Regions from separate parts of the Homo sapiens genome. Here regions 1 and 2 are each linked to region 3. Evidence: promoter capture Hi-C in 16 types of primary human blood cells and fetal thymus (Javierre and others, 2016). All regions are on one chromosome and are shown on one strand. The core of a region is centred on a gene start or on the middle of the fragment in contact, and the rest is flanking DNA. Distances in the headings are between cores, read along the strand shown. Region 1 overlaps ZNF605 (zinc finger protein 605). Region 2 overlaps ZNF268 (zinc finger protein 268). Region 3 holds the start of ZNF140 (zinc finger protein 140).

Region 1 (3,855 bases), core at 136-2,635, 160 kb after region 3:
TTCATACTGGAGAGAAGCCGTATGGATGCAGTGAATGTGGAAAAGCCTTCAGTAGGAAGTCGCAGCTTAAAAGACATCAGATAACGCACACAATAGAGAAACCCTACAGTTGCAGTGAGTGTGGGAAAGCATTCTCCCAGAAATTAAAACTCATCACACATCAGAGAGCGCACACAGGAGAGAAACCCTATCCATGTAGTCACTGTGGAAAAGCCTTCTTTTGGAAGTCGCAGCTGATTACTCATCAGAGGACCCACACAGGGAAGAAACCTTACGGATGTGGTGAGTGTCAAAAAGCCTTCAGCAGGAACTCACTTCTCATTAGGCATCAGAGGATTCATACAGGAGAGAAGCCCTACGAATGCAACGAATGTGGTGAAGCCTTCATCAGAAAACCACAGCTGATTAAACATCAGATAACTCACACAGGAGAGAAGAACTATCGATGCAGTGATTGTGAGGAGGCCTTCTTTAAGAAGTCAGAGTTAATAAGACATCAAAAAATTCACTTAGGAGAGAAACCATATGGATGCATTCAATGTGGGAAAACCTTCTTTGGGAAGTCCCAGCTCCTAACGCATCACAGAACACACACTGGGGAGAAGCCTTATGAATGCAGTGAGTGTGGGAAGGCCTTCACCCAGAAGTCAAGCCTGATATCACATCAGAGAACACATACAGGTGAGAAACCCTATGAATGCAGTGAATGCAGGAAAACCTTCAGTGAGAAGTCAAGTCTCATTCATCATCAGAGAACCCATACTGGAGAAAAGCCCTTTGAATGTAGTGAATGTAGGAAAGCTTTTGCCTGGAAGCCACAGCTTCTTAGGCATCAGAGAATTCATACAGGGGAGAAACCCTATGAATGCAGTGAATGTGGGAAAGCATTTGTTCAGAAAGTGCAGCTCATTAAGCATCAAAGAAATCACACAGGAGAGAAAACCTATGGATGCAGCGATTGTGCAAAAGCTTTCTTTGAGAAGGCACAGCTGATTATACATCAGAGAATTCATACAGGAGAGAGACCATATAAATGTGGTGAATGTGGGAAATCTTTCACAAGAAAGTCACACCTTATGAGGCATCAGAGGATTCATACAGGAGATAAATACTATGGATGCAATGAGTGTGGGACCACCTTCAACAGGAAGTCGCAGCTTATGATACATCAGAGAAATCATATAATATAAAAATCATGACTTTGGCGAATGCAGAAAGGTTGCTATCAAGTGTCATACTTTCTGACACTTTTGAGGATGCATGTGGGAGAGAAACCCTATTGAGGCAGTGACTGTTGAAAAAGCTTGAATTGAGGAGTCAAGAGTCACTAAGCAGAATTTAGAAAGAGAAGTTTTTAAAAAGCAAACAGTGTAAAAAAAGTCATCTCCCAGAAGACACTACTCGTTACATATTGGATGACTCATTGAGGTGAAAACCTTATTAGTGTTGTGATAGTAGAGAAGCTTTTAGTCAAAAGTCAGTTTATTAAATGTTTAGAATACCTAAACAGGAAGAAAATTCTATTGTTTTTTATAACAAAGTGGAAGATTTCAAGAAAGGACAACTCACTGTACACTTGAGAATAATACCTACAGAGGTTCATACTGAAGAGTAGTCTCAATAATGTAAAGAATTTGACAAGCATGATGCTATTGAAATAGTTCTGTAAGGAAGTGGTGTTCTTTATACATCAATTATTACAAAAAGCAGTGAATTGTAAGTGTGAGGTGTGTTTACTTAGATGTGAAGAGTTCTCCTTACTGCTGTGATGGAATAACAAGGGTCAGATTTCCTCTCCTGCCTTAAACAACTGGAAGCTATACAATACGTATAATAGGTAATGGTTTTTAGACATAGGACAAGCACAGGTTTGTGATCCTCAGGAGACTGCAGACAGAGTGAGGTGAGCACCATGGTTTCTCAGCCTGCCCCCGCATGGCAGTTCCTAGGTTGCAGTTCAGGGAAGGGAAACAATAAATCTCGCTGAATTGAAGAGACAGGACTGGCAGTTGGGGAGGCCACAGCAGCTAGAATTTCCAGGGGAAAGTACTGGAGAGATGGGATCCTTCTAGATACAGGGCTCAAGAAGTCTGCTGGGAGTCCCCTGAGTCCTTTGACTTAGTACTGACTTGCACTGAGGCCAGGAAAAGAAGCACTGGAAAGCAGCAGGCTGAACAATTCCTGGAACTCATGCAGGGCTGGGAATAGTTTATGTTCTCAGCAGCCAGAGTGGAAACAGAGTGGAAACACATGGAGCATCAGGTAGAATTCTCAGAAAGGTTTTGTTTTAGTAGTGCAGCTAATTAACTCTAGATTAAAAGCTACTCTGGACCTACAGTGTCCGGCATCCAAAAAAACTAATGTGTTATGCAAAGAAGCAATAAAATATGACTTATAACCAGGAGAAAAATCAGTAGAAACCCAGAAAAGACAGAGGTGATGGAATTAGTAGACAAGGATATTAAAAGAGCTATTGTAAATATAAAGTAGAGGAAAACATAAGATTGATGAAACCTGAGGTATAAGAGATATTTTTACTGGCCAAAATGGAACTTCTAGGGATGAAATCAACTTCTGATTTTGTTAAAATCCCGAGTGGAGAGATTAGATACAGAAAAAGAAGAAAAAATCAATGAACTTGAAGAGTAAGAATAAAAACTACCAAAGTGATATACAGAGAGAAAAAAAGACTTAGAGAAGAGGAAGAGAATAGGAAAACCATTACAGTAGTGTAATATATGTTTAACTGGAGTCCCAGAAGGAGAGGAGAAAATGAAGAGGCATGAAGAAGTATTTGAATAAATAATGGCTAAAGATTTTCCAAATCTGGTGAAAACAATACCCCCACATATTCAAGAAGCTCAAATGACCTGAAGTAGAATAAACATAATTTACATCACAGCAGTGCACCTCAGAGTCACATTCATGAAAAGCACTGATAAACAGAATACTTTTAAAACACCTTGAGAAAAAAAGATAATACATACACATGAACAAAGAATGGCAGCATATTTCTGGTGAGAACTATGCAAGCTATAAGACAATGGAGTATTATCTCTAAATTCCTTAATGAAATAAACAACAAACCCTGCAACCTAGAATTCTGTTACTGTCAAAAACGTTTTCAAAAATGAAGGCAAAATAAAGACTGTTTCTGAGAAACTAAATCAAAGGTAATTTTATTACCTGTAGACCTGTCTTTGGGAAACATTAAAGGATGTTTGAGGGCAGCAGGAAAATAATACAAAACTTAAGTTTGGGTCTGTACAAAGGAATGAAGTTCTGAAAATGGTGAATATGTGGGTAAATATAAAAGATATTTCTCTCTTTTTAAAATCTTTTTAAAAGGGAATTGGCTGCTTAAAGCCAAAGTAATGATAACGTATTTGGAGTTTATTTAGAAGTAAAGTGTGATGACGATAACACTTAAGTGTGAATTTTTAAATATAGTTGAGTAGACTGCATCATCTGAGTTAGAAGCCTATTCCTTCAGGGCTCGGGGTAGCTTGAATTTGTAGCAGGCACATGACAGAAATTGTATGTATTGTGGATCTGCATGTGTGCTGAGTATTCCCTATTTCTTTGATCCCTTTTCCCCCATTTTCTGCTCTGCTCCCCCCTGAGGCTGTCTTCTAGAGACTGGGGTTTCTTCATAGGTTTGAACAGTGGGAGATACCAGAGGTGGGAGGAGAAAAAGTTATTTATTACCGTTCCCTTCCTCCTGCCTGGACCATGGTAGCTTCTGTGTTCCCGTAAGGATACAGCTTCCTTTGGGAAGCCCCATCTATGGCTGTAGATCTCTCGGTTTCAGTTGACACCATTCCCTCTCCATGATCTTCAGACTTAACTACTACT
Region 2 (3,887 bases), core at 527-3,026, 130 kb before region 3:
GGCTGGTCCTTCTCTGGACGGTGAACCACAGCAAGGGACCTCTCATGGGGGCTCCCATACCTCCTGTGACCTGGGCAGAAAGTCGTACAGTCCCAGGCCTCCAAAGGCAAAAGCCCCTTCTGACTCAGATAACATCCCTCCCACTCTGCTTGCCTGCAGAGCCCCGGAGGTTTCTGGGGAGCTTCAGTGGAGCTGAATCATCAGGGTTGAGGCAGGCCCTAGCATTGATCGTTAGCAACCAGAGAGTGGAAGCGGTGTAGATGGCAGCGAGTTGCAGGTGGCCTCAGTTCTAACTAAATATTACAATACTAGCATGATTCCACTTCCTGGAGCTGGCCTCTGGGGAGCCCCAGGCTGGTGTATTTATGATAGGGTCTGTGTGGCTCATGAGGCTTCACGTGGGACTTGGGCCATCTCATGACCAGACAAGTGCCCCCACAGCTGGGTTACCTCTGCTGTGTGGCCTGGACACAGGTTCATGTGACTCACAAACTTTGAGTGGCACCTGGAAACGAGGTTCTGGGCTGGAACCTGAGTGTGAACCTCACTTGGAGGCTGTGTGATTGCAGGTGAATCATTCAATCACCTGAGCCTGGCCCTCCCCTCTGCACAAGGAACTAGCCATACCTAGCAGATAGCTGTGAGTCACCTGAGCAAGATAGCTGCATGGTGATGGTCAGAAAACACTGATTTCTCCTTATTGAAATGGGACAACCCTTGGATACCACGTGCCGAGCTATGAATTCCAGCAATGCAAGTTTCAAAAGACCCTGTGTGCCCTAAGGAGGCACTGCTGATCACTTAGTGTCTGTGAAGGCATCAGAAGGTGACCTGGACCTGGAATGATGAAACAGCCATGGGTTTAGGAGCTGGCAGATGGTGTGGCTGGAGCACATGTCTGGAATGTGGTTGGCCAGGCCCAGGCAGCACTGGGCTATGGAGGGACTTAAATGTGAGGCTAAGAGGGCTGACCCTGGTGAGGGAATGCTGTGGACTAGATTTTTTTATTGAGGTAAAATTTACACAATATAAAATTAACTTTTAAAAATGTACATTTCTGTGACATTTAGTCCATGCACAACATTGTGCAGCCACCACCTCTTAGTTCCAAAATAGTTTCATCACCCCAAAGGAAATCCTCCATCCATTAAGCAGCTGTCACACATTTCATCCTCCCTCCGACCCTTGACAACCACCAATATGCTCTCTTTGGATTTACCCATTCTGGGTATTTCATATAAGTGGTATCATACAGTATGTGACCTTTTTGTGGCCAGCCTCTTTCTGCACATTGCTTTTATTTTTATCTTTGTAGACATGGAGTCTTGCTATGCTGCCCAGACTGGACTTGAACTCCCAGGCTCAAGCGACCCTCCCACCTCAGCCTCCCGAGTAGCTGGGATTACAGGTGTGTGGCCTTGTGCTGGGTTCTCAGCACAATGTTTCTGAGGTTCCTCCACGTTGTAGCAAGGGTCAGTCATAGCAGCTTTACCATTTTACAGCGGTGTTCACATTTCTCCACTTCTTTGTCAATACTTGTTTCTGGTTTGTTTTTAAAATAATAAGACATTCTGATGGGTATGGAGTGTTATCTCATTGTATTTTTGATTTATATTTCCATGATGGCTAGTGATGTTGAGTATCGTTTCATATGCTATTTGCATATCTTCTTTACAGAAAAGTCTCTTCAAGTCCTCTGCCCATTTTGATATTGGGTTGTCTTTTTGTTGTTGGGTTGTAAGAGTTCTTTATATGTTCTGGATACTAGACCCTTATCAGGTATATTATTTTACAGTGTCTTTTCTCCTATATTCACCTTTTTTTTTTTTGAGACGGAGTCTCGCTCTGTCGCCCAGGCTGGAGTGCAGTGGTGAGATCTGGGCTCACTGGTTCCAGGTTCACGCCATTCTCCTTCCTCAGCCTCCCAAGTAGCTGGGACTACAGGCTTCCACTACCAGCCTGGCTAATTTTTTGTATTTTTTTGTAGAGACAGGGTTTCACCACATTAGCCAGGATGGTTTCGATCTCCTGACCTCGTGATCCACCTGCCTCAGCCTCCCAAAGTGCTAGGATTACAGGCGTGAGCCACCACACCCGGCCTTTTTTTTTTTTTTGAGATGGAATTTTGCTTTCTTGCTCTGTCACCTGGGCTGGAGTGCAGTAGCATGATCTCGGCTCACTGCAACCTCCACCTCACAGCTTCAAGCGATCCTCCTGCCTCAGCTTCCTGAGTTGCTGGGATTACAGGCACATGCCACCACACCCGGCTTTTTTTTTTCTCTTTTTTTTTATTTTTAGTAGAGACGTGGTTTCACCAAGTTAACCAGGCTGGTCTCGCACTCCTGACCTCAAGTGATCCTCCCACCTTGGCCTCCCAAAGTGCTGGAATTACAGGCGTGAGCCACCACACCCAGCTCCTTTTCACTTTCTTGATAGTGTCCACTGATGCCGAAAGTTTTCAATTTTGGTGAAGTCCAATTTACCTATTTTTTCTTTTGTTTCCCATGCTTCTGGTGTCATATCCAATAAATCATTGCCAAATCCAGTGCCAAGAAGTACATGAAAAGATTTTCAACATCACTAGCCATTAGGTAAAGGAAAATCAAAACCACAATGAGATACCATTTCATACATGTTAGAGTGGCTATTATAAAAAATATGGAGGCCAAGTGCAGTGGTTCAAGCCTGTAATCCCAGCACTTTGGGAGGCCAAGGTAAGTGGATCACTTGAGGACAGGAGTTTGAGACTAGCCTGGCCTGGCCAACATGGTGAAACCCTGTCTCTACTAAAAATACAAAAAATAGCCATACATGGTGGCACATGCCTGTAATCCCAGCTACTCAGGAGGCCGAGGAAGGAGAATCACTTAAACCTAGGAGGCGGAGGTTGCAGTGAGCTGAAATGGTGCCACTGCACTCCAGCCTGGGTGACAGAGTGAAACTCCATTTCAAAAAAACCAAAAAACTATTTGGGTGTAGTGGCACCTGTAGTTCCAGCTACCCAGGAGGCTGAGGTGGAAGGATCCCTTGAGCCCAGGAGGTTGGGGCTGCAGTGAGTTATGATCATGCCTATGAAATGAGAGAGAAACAAACTAATTAATATTGGCAAGTATGTGGAGAAATTGGAAGCCTTGTGCACTGCTGGTGGAATGTAAAATGATAGTTGCACAATAATGGAAATAATGTACTTCATGCCACTGAAGTGTACACTTAAAAATAGTTAAAATGGTAAATGTTCTTATTATATATATGTGTATATATATGTGTATATGTGTATATATATGTGTATATATGTGTGTATGTGTGTGTGTATATATACATATATATATATATATATATATATATATATATATATATATATATATATATATAAAATCACACATGAAAGTCTCCCTTGGAACTGATCCTGAAATAATTTCATGTGTGATGAAAGAACACCCTGCTCTCCTGGAGTGATAAGTGGCCTTTTTGTTCATGCTGGCATTATACATCCCAGGCTCTTCCACACACACCCAGCATAATTTCACCAAGCAGAGGGAGTACACTCTCCAAAGGCCCATTTGTGCCTGTTTCTATCATTATATCCTCCTATTTAACTCACTCCCTGCCCTCTACAAACCGTCATCAATCACAGATATGTTTGCTACCCCTGTAGTTTCTGCTTTTCCATAACATCATAGAAATAGGATCATACAGCCTTTTCACACTGGTCTCTTTCACTTAGCAATATGCCTATCAGATTCATCCATGTCCTGCATGGCCTCAGAGCTTGCTCTTGCTGAACAGGACTCCATTGCATGGATGTACCCCAGCCTAGTTAGTCATTCACCTATTGAAGGTTATCCTGATTCCTTAAAGTATTTGTCTGTTATGAAAAGAGCTGCTGT
Region 3 (3,894 bases), core at 909-3,408:
GCATGACCAGCACGCATGCCCCCAAACTCCCTCATCAAGGAATAAAATGAGTCTCACTGTGGAGGTTAGGCAATGTGTCTAAGTAGTAACAGTGAGAGTTTTCAGAATTCTGAGTAATTATATAATGAAGAGCCTAGCTCTTGTGTTTTGTTGTATAACTGGAGAAAAGGAGAAAAACATAAATTATCTGTCCTGAGATAATTTACAATTTTATTCAAAATAAAGGATTATACACATGAACAATATGGATTTTTGGCATTGGTTGTAAAAATTCTTAAGATTTTACAGTATTCCTTTATGTTAATAAACAATGTATATTTTCCTTAATACCAGCCTATTTTAATATAATTCAGCCAGAATTTCTTCAGGGTAATAATTCGCTACAGCAGATAACAGCACCACCCTTCAAATGGGGCATACAGTCTCAAGTTTGTCACAGTTATCCCTAATCCTAAAGAAATACCTGTGAAACTTAGTGGTAATTTTAGCAATGTCACAGAACAAGGAGGATAAGCAATAAAGAATCTTGATTCCGCAAGAAGAGAATGTAATACCTCCCAGGACAGAACCTAAAGCACTTTCCCTCAGAGTTAGGGGGAATAATATATAAGCCCTTGCTTTGCAGCCTGGTTTTGCACCACTTGAGTGATCCACATTGATCTATAAGGCATGAATGGGAATTTAAAATGTCTCAAACTAGTAGCAGTCCCAGATGGATGGCAGTTATAATTTACAGTTTTGAAGTTTAATAAAAAAGTGATTAAAGACTGTTGACTAATAAAGCAGCTGTTTCCTACACAGCAAGATCTGCAGCAGAGGTGGAAATTGGATTCCCCAGCAAAACTCAGAGAACCTCTGAATTTGGAGAGAAGTATGACAAAAAGTAGGATAAAGAAGTGGAACTGAAATGAGGGACTCATTTTGAATAGTTGACCCTGTTATCCCCACTGCTGTGAAGCACAATTACCAGCCAAGCCCTTAGGCCAAATCAAAATAAAAATGTGTTCCTTATGTCATGTCTGAAAAATGAGCTCTGAGGATTCGGAGATTTTGTTTTGGTCACTTCTGCATCCTCAAGACTTAGAATGAGTTGCACATTAGAATCACTTGGAAGGACTGTTAGACTGCTGGGCCAAATTCTCAGTTTCTGATTCAGAAGGTCTGGGGTAGGACTCAAGAATATTCATTTCTAATACGTTCTCAGATGATGCTGATACTGCTGGTCCAAGGATCACACTGTGGGAACCACTGAAAGTAGAGGTTCAGTAAAAACATATTGAATAAATGAATAAAGGGGCGCTGGAGTAACGTAAAGCACTCCTCATTCTAACACTGTGGGAAAGAGGAGGCGATGTAACAGCTGGCACCCTACCCTCTCACCCTAAAACATGCCAGCCAGGTCAGAAACCCCGCCCACATCTGGATAGCTTCCTGTCACTCTCTTCATGTATACTTAAGTATAAGCACCTGAAAAGGAGGAACAAGGGACAGGGTCCTGGGGTTCTGCCAGGCAGGTGGTTGTAGGAGAAAGAAAGCCACGTCCCAAGTCCTGAAAAACACGGCTGCACTTCACAAAGAAAAGCGGAAACAGGCCAAGTGGGTTGGCTCACTTGAGGCCAAGAGTTTGAGGTTACAGGATGCTATGATCGCTCCACTGCCTGGGCGACAGGAGGAGACCCTGTCTCTCTCTTAAAAAAAAAATAAAAATTTATATATATATATATATATATATTTATCAATCATTAGCTTACCTGAGACATAGCTCACAGAAGGGAAGGAGGAGATCAGAAAAGTGTAAAATGGCAGACCTGGCAGAGAGAGAAAGGAGCCCTGAGCGAACAGGCCAGCTAGGCCGCGCCCAAGTCACTAGATTCCCGCACTGGGGATTCCCGTGGCCCCCGCTCCGCGCCTCCCACGTAGAGAGCAGGGCGCCCTGAGAGATCGCGCTTGGACCACTGGCGCCGGCTTTCTCTTCCTGCCACGGCGCGCCTCCCCAGAACCCCCTCACCTAACAGTGGCCACAGAAGGATGCGTTTCCGTGGTGCTTTCCGCCAGGTGGGCGTAGCGTTCCAGGGCTCCGGACCGAGTCACCGCCCGGGGCCATCCGGCGCAGACCGGGAGGGCTCCTTTCGTTGCCTACAGCCAACACAGGCCAGACGCTCGGCGCCGCCCCCCAGGGCCCCTCCGCGGGCGTCGCAGGAATTGCGTCTTCAGAAGCCTCGCCGACGTCACCCCAACCAGGCCGCCGGCCTCAAGAAACTACAATTCCCAGAAACCAATGCGGCCCTGCGCGCAAGGGCTTTTCGTTCCTACTGGAACTCCCAGAGCGCCTCGCTGCCGTGCCCAGAACGCCAGGAGACAAAGAACGAGGGCCTGCGACAACTACAATTCCCAGAGCCATCGCGGCCCGGTGCGCCAGAGCATAGGGGCTATCCTCCCACGCCCAGAGCCGAGAAACAAAGAACCCGGGTCCTAGGCAACTACATTTCCCAGAAATAACCGCGGCCCCCCGCGGAAGAGTACACAGACCTTTGTGTTCCTATAACTGCCAGAGTGTCTCGCGGCCAAGCGCACAACTAGCGGAGAAACGAAGAACGTGGAACTCAGGCCACCACACTTCCCAGAAACAACCGCGACCCCGCGCGAGAGAGCATATGGCTTTCCCCGCCCCACTGCAACTCCCAGGGTGCTTTGAGGCCAAGCGCACATCATCGAAAGACAAAGAACACGAGCTTCAGGCAACTACACTTCCCAGAACCTCTAGCGACCGTGCGCAAAAGAGCGGAGGACGTTCTTCCCCTACTACGACTCCCAGAGTGCATCGTGGCCACGCCCAAAGCCGGAAGACAACGCAGAGCTCTGGCGACTACATTCCCCCAAACTCCTGCGCCGCACGCCAGAGGGTATAGGGTTTTCCTCCCCTACTACGACTCCCACAGTGCTTCGCTGGCGTGCACACACGGCCCAGAGACAAGGAACTGGAGACTCAGGTGACTACACTTCCCAGAACACACCGCGGCCCAGCAAGAGCCCAAGACCGCCTCTATTAAACAACTAGGATTCTTAACAACGACTGTGGAGTCAGTACTTCAGTCTAAGACCTTTTGCTACTGGAAAGGGGTCCGGATCTCAGACTCTAAGAGAGGGTTCTTGGATCTTGCACAAGAAAGAATTTGAGGCGAATCCATAAGGTGAAAGCAAGTTTATTAGGAAAGTAAAGGAATAAAGAATGGCTAATCCATAGGCAGGGCAGCCCCGAGGGCTGCTGGTTGCGCATTTTTGTGGTTATTTCTTGATGATATGCTAAACAAGGGGTGGATTATTCATGCATCCTCTTTTTAGACCATATAGGGTAACTTCCTGACGTTGCCATAGCCACTGGTGGGCAGTGAGGACAATCAGGTCGTTCTCATCGCTATCTCGGTTTTAGTCGGCTTCTTTACTGCAACCTGTTTTATCAGCAAGGTCTTTATGACCTGTATCTTGTGCCAGCCTCATGTCTCATCCTGTGACTACGAATGCCTTAACCTCCAGGGAATGCTGCCCAGCAGGTCTCAGCCTTATTTTAACCAGCCCCTACTCAAGATAGAGTTGCCCTGGTTCAACCGCCTCTGACAGTGGAAGACGTAGCAATGAGGACAGCCAGAAGTCACTCTCATTGCCATCTTGGTTTTGGTGGGTTTTAGCCGGCTTCTTTACTGTAAACTTTTATCAGCAAGGTCTTTATGACCTGTGTCTCATGCTGACCTGCTGTCTCATACTGTGAGTTAGAATGCCTAACGGTCTTGGAACGCAGCCCAGTATGCCTCAGCCTTATTTTACCCAGTTCTTATTTAAGATGGAGTTGCCGGGTGCTGTGGCTCATGCCTGTAATCCCAGCACTTTGGGAGGCTA

Evidence for each region. The method cuts DNA at HindIII sites, captures the fragments that hold promoters and counts their contacts. A CHiCAGO score of 5 or more calls a contact.
Region 1: a contact is called between a fragment that was not itself captured here and the fragment with the promoter of ZNF140 in region 3, in 14 of 17 cell types (erythroblasts, total B cells, fetal thymus and 11 more). The highest score is 13.6, in erythroblasts.
Region 2: a fragment that was not itself captured here is called in contact with the fragment with the promoter of ZNF140 in region 3 in 2 of 17 cell types (naive CD8 T cells and M0 macrophages); the score reaches 6.7 in naive CD8 T cells.

Annotation. Positions count from the first base shown.
Region 1 is chr12:132,922,708-132,926,562 of GRCh38, reverse strand. It overlaps ZNF605 (zinc finger protein 605), which reads left to right. Exons shown (of 5, transcript NM_183238.4): 5 at 1-3,855. The coding sequence ends at 1,190. Among named protein-coding and RNA genes, the nearest start is that of ZNF605, 32 kb to the left of the region's middle. The HindIII fragment of the contact is 160 bases long and covers 1,306-1,465 here.
Region 2 is chr12:133,211,931-133,215,817 of GRCh38, reverse strand. ZNF268 (zinc finger protein 268) reads right to left here. Exons shown (of 6, transcript NM_003415.3): 6 at 986-3,887. Among named protein-coding and RNA genes, the nearest start is that of ANHX, 22 kb to the left of the region's middle. The HindIII fragment of the contact is 4,424 bases long and covers 1-3,887 here.
Region 3 is chr12:133,079,187-133,083,080 of GRCh38, reverse strand. It overlaps ZNF140 (zinc finger protein 140), which reads right to left and starts at 2,158. Exons shown (of 5, transcript NM_003440.4): 1 at 2,009-2,158; 2 at 1,752-1,808. The coding sequence starts at 1,760. RefSeq lists enhancers at 2,170-2,369, 2,440-3,129. The HindIII fragment of the contact is 18,343 bases long and covers 1-3,894 here.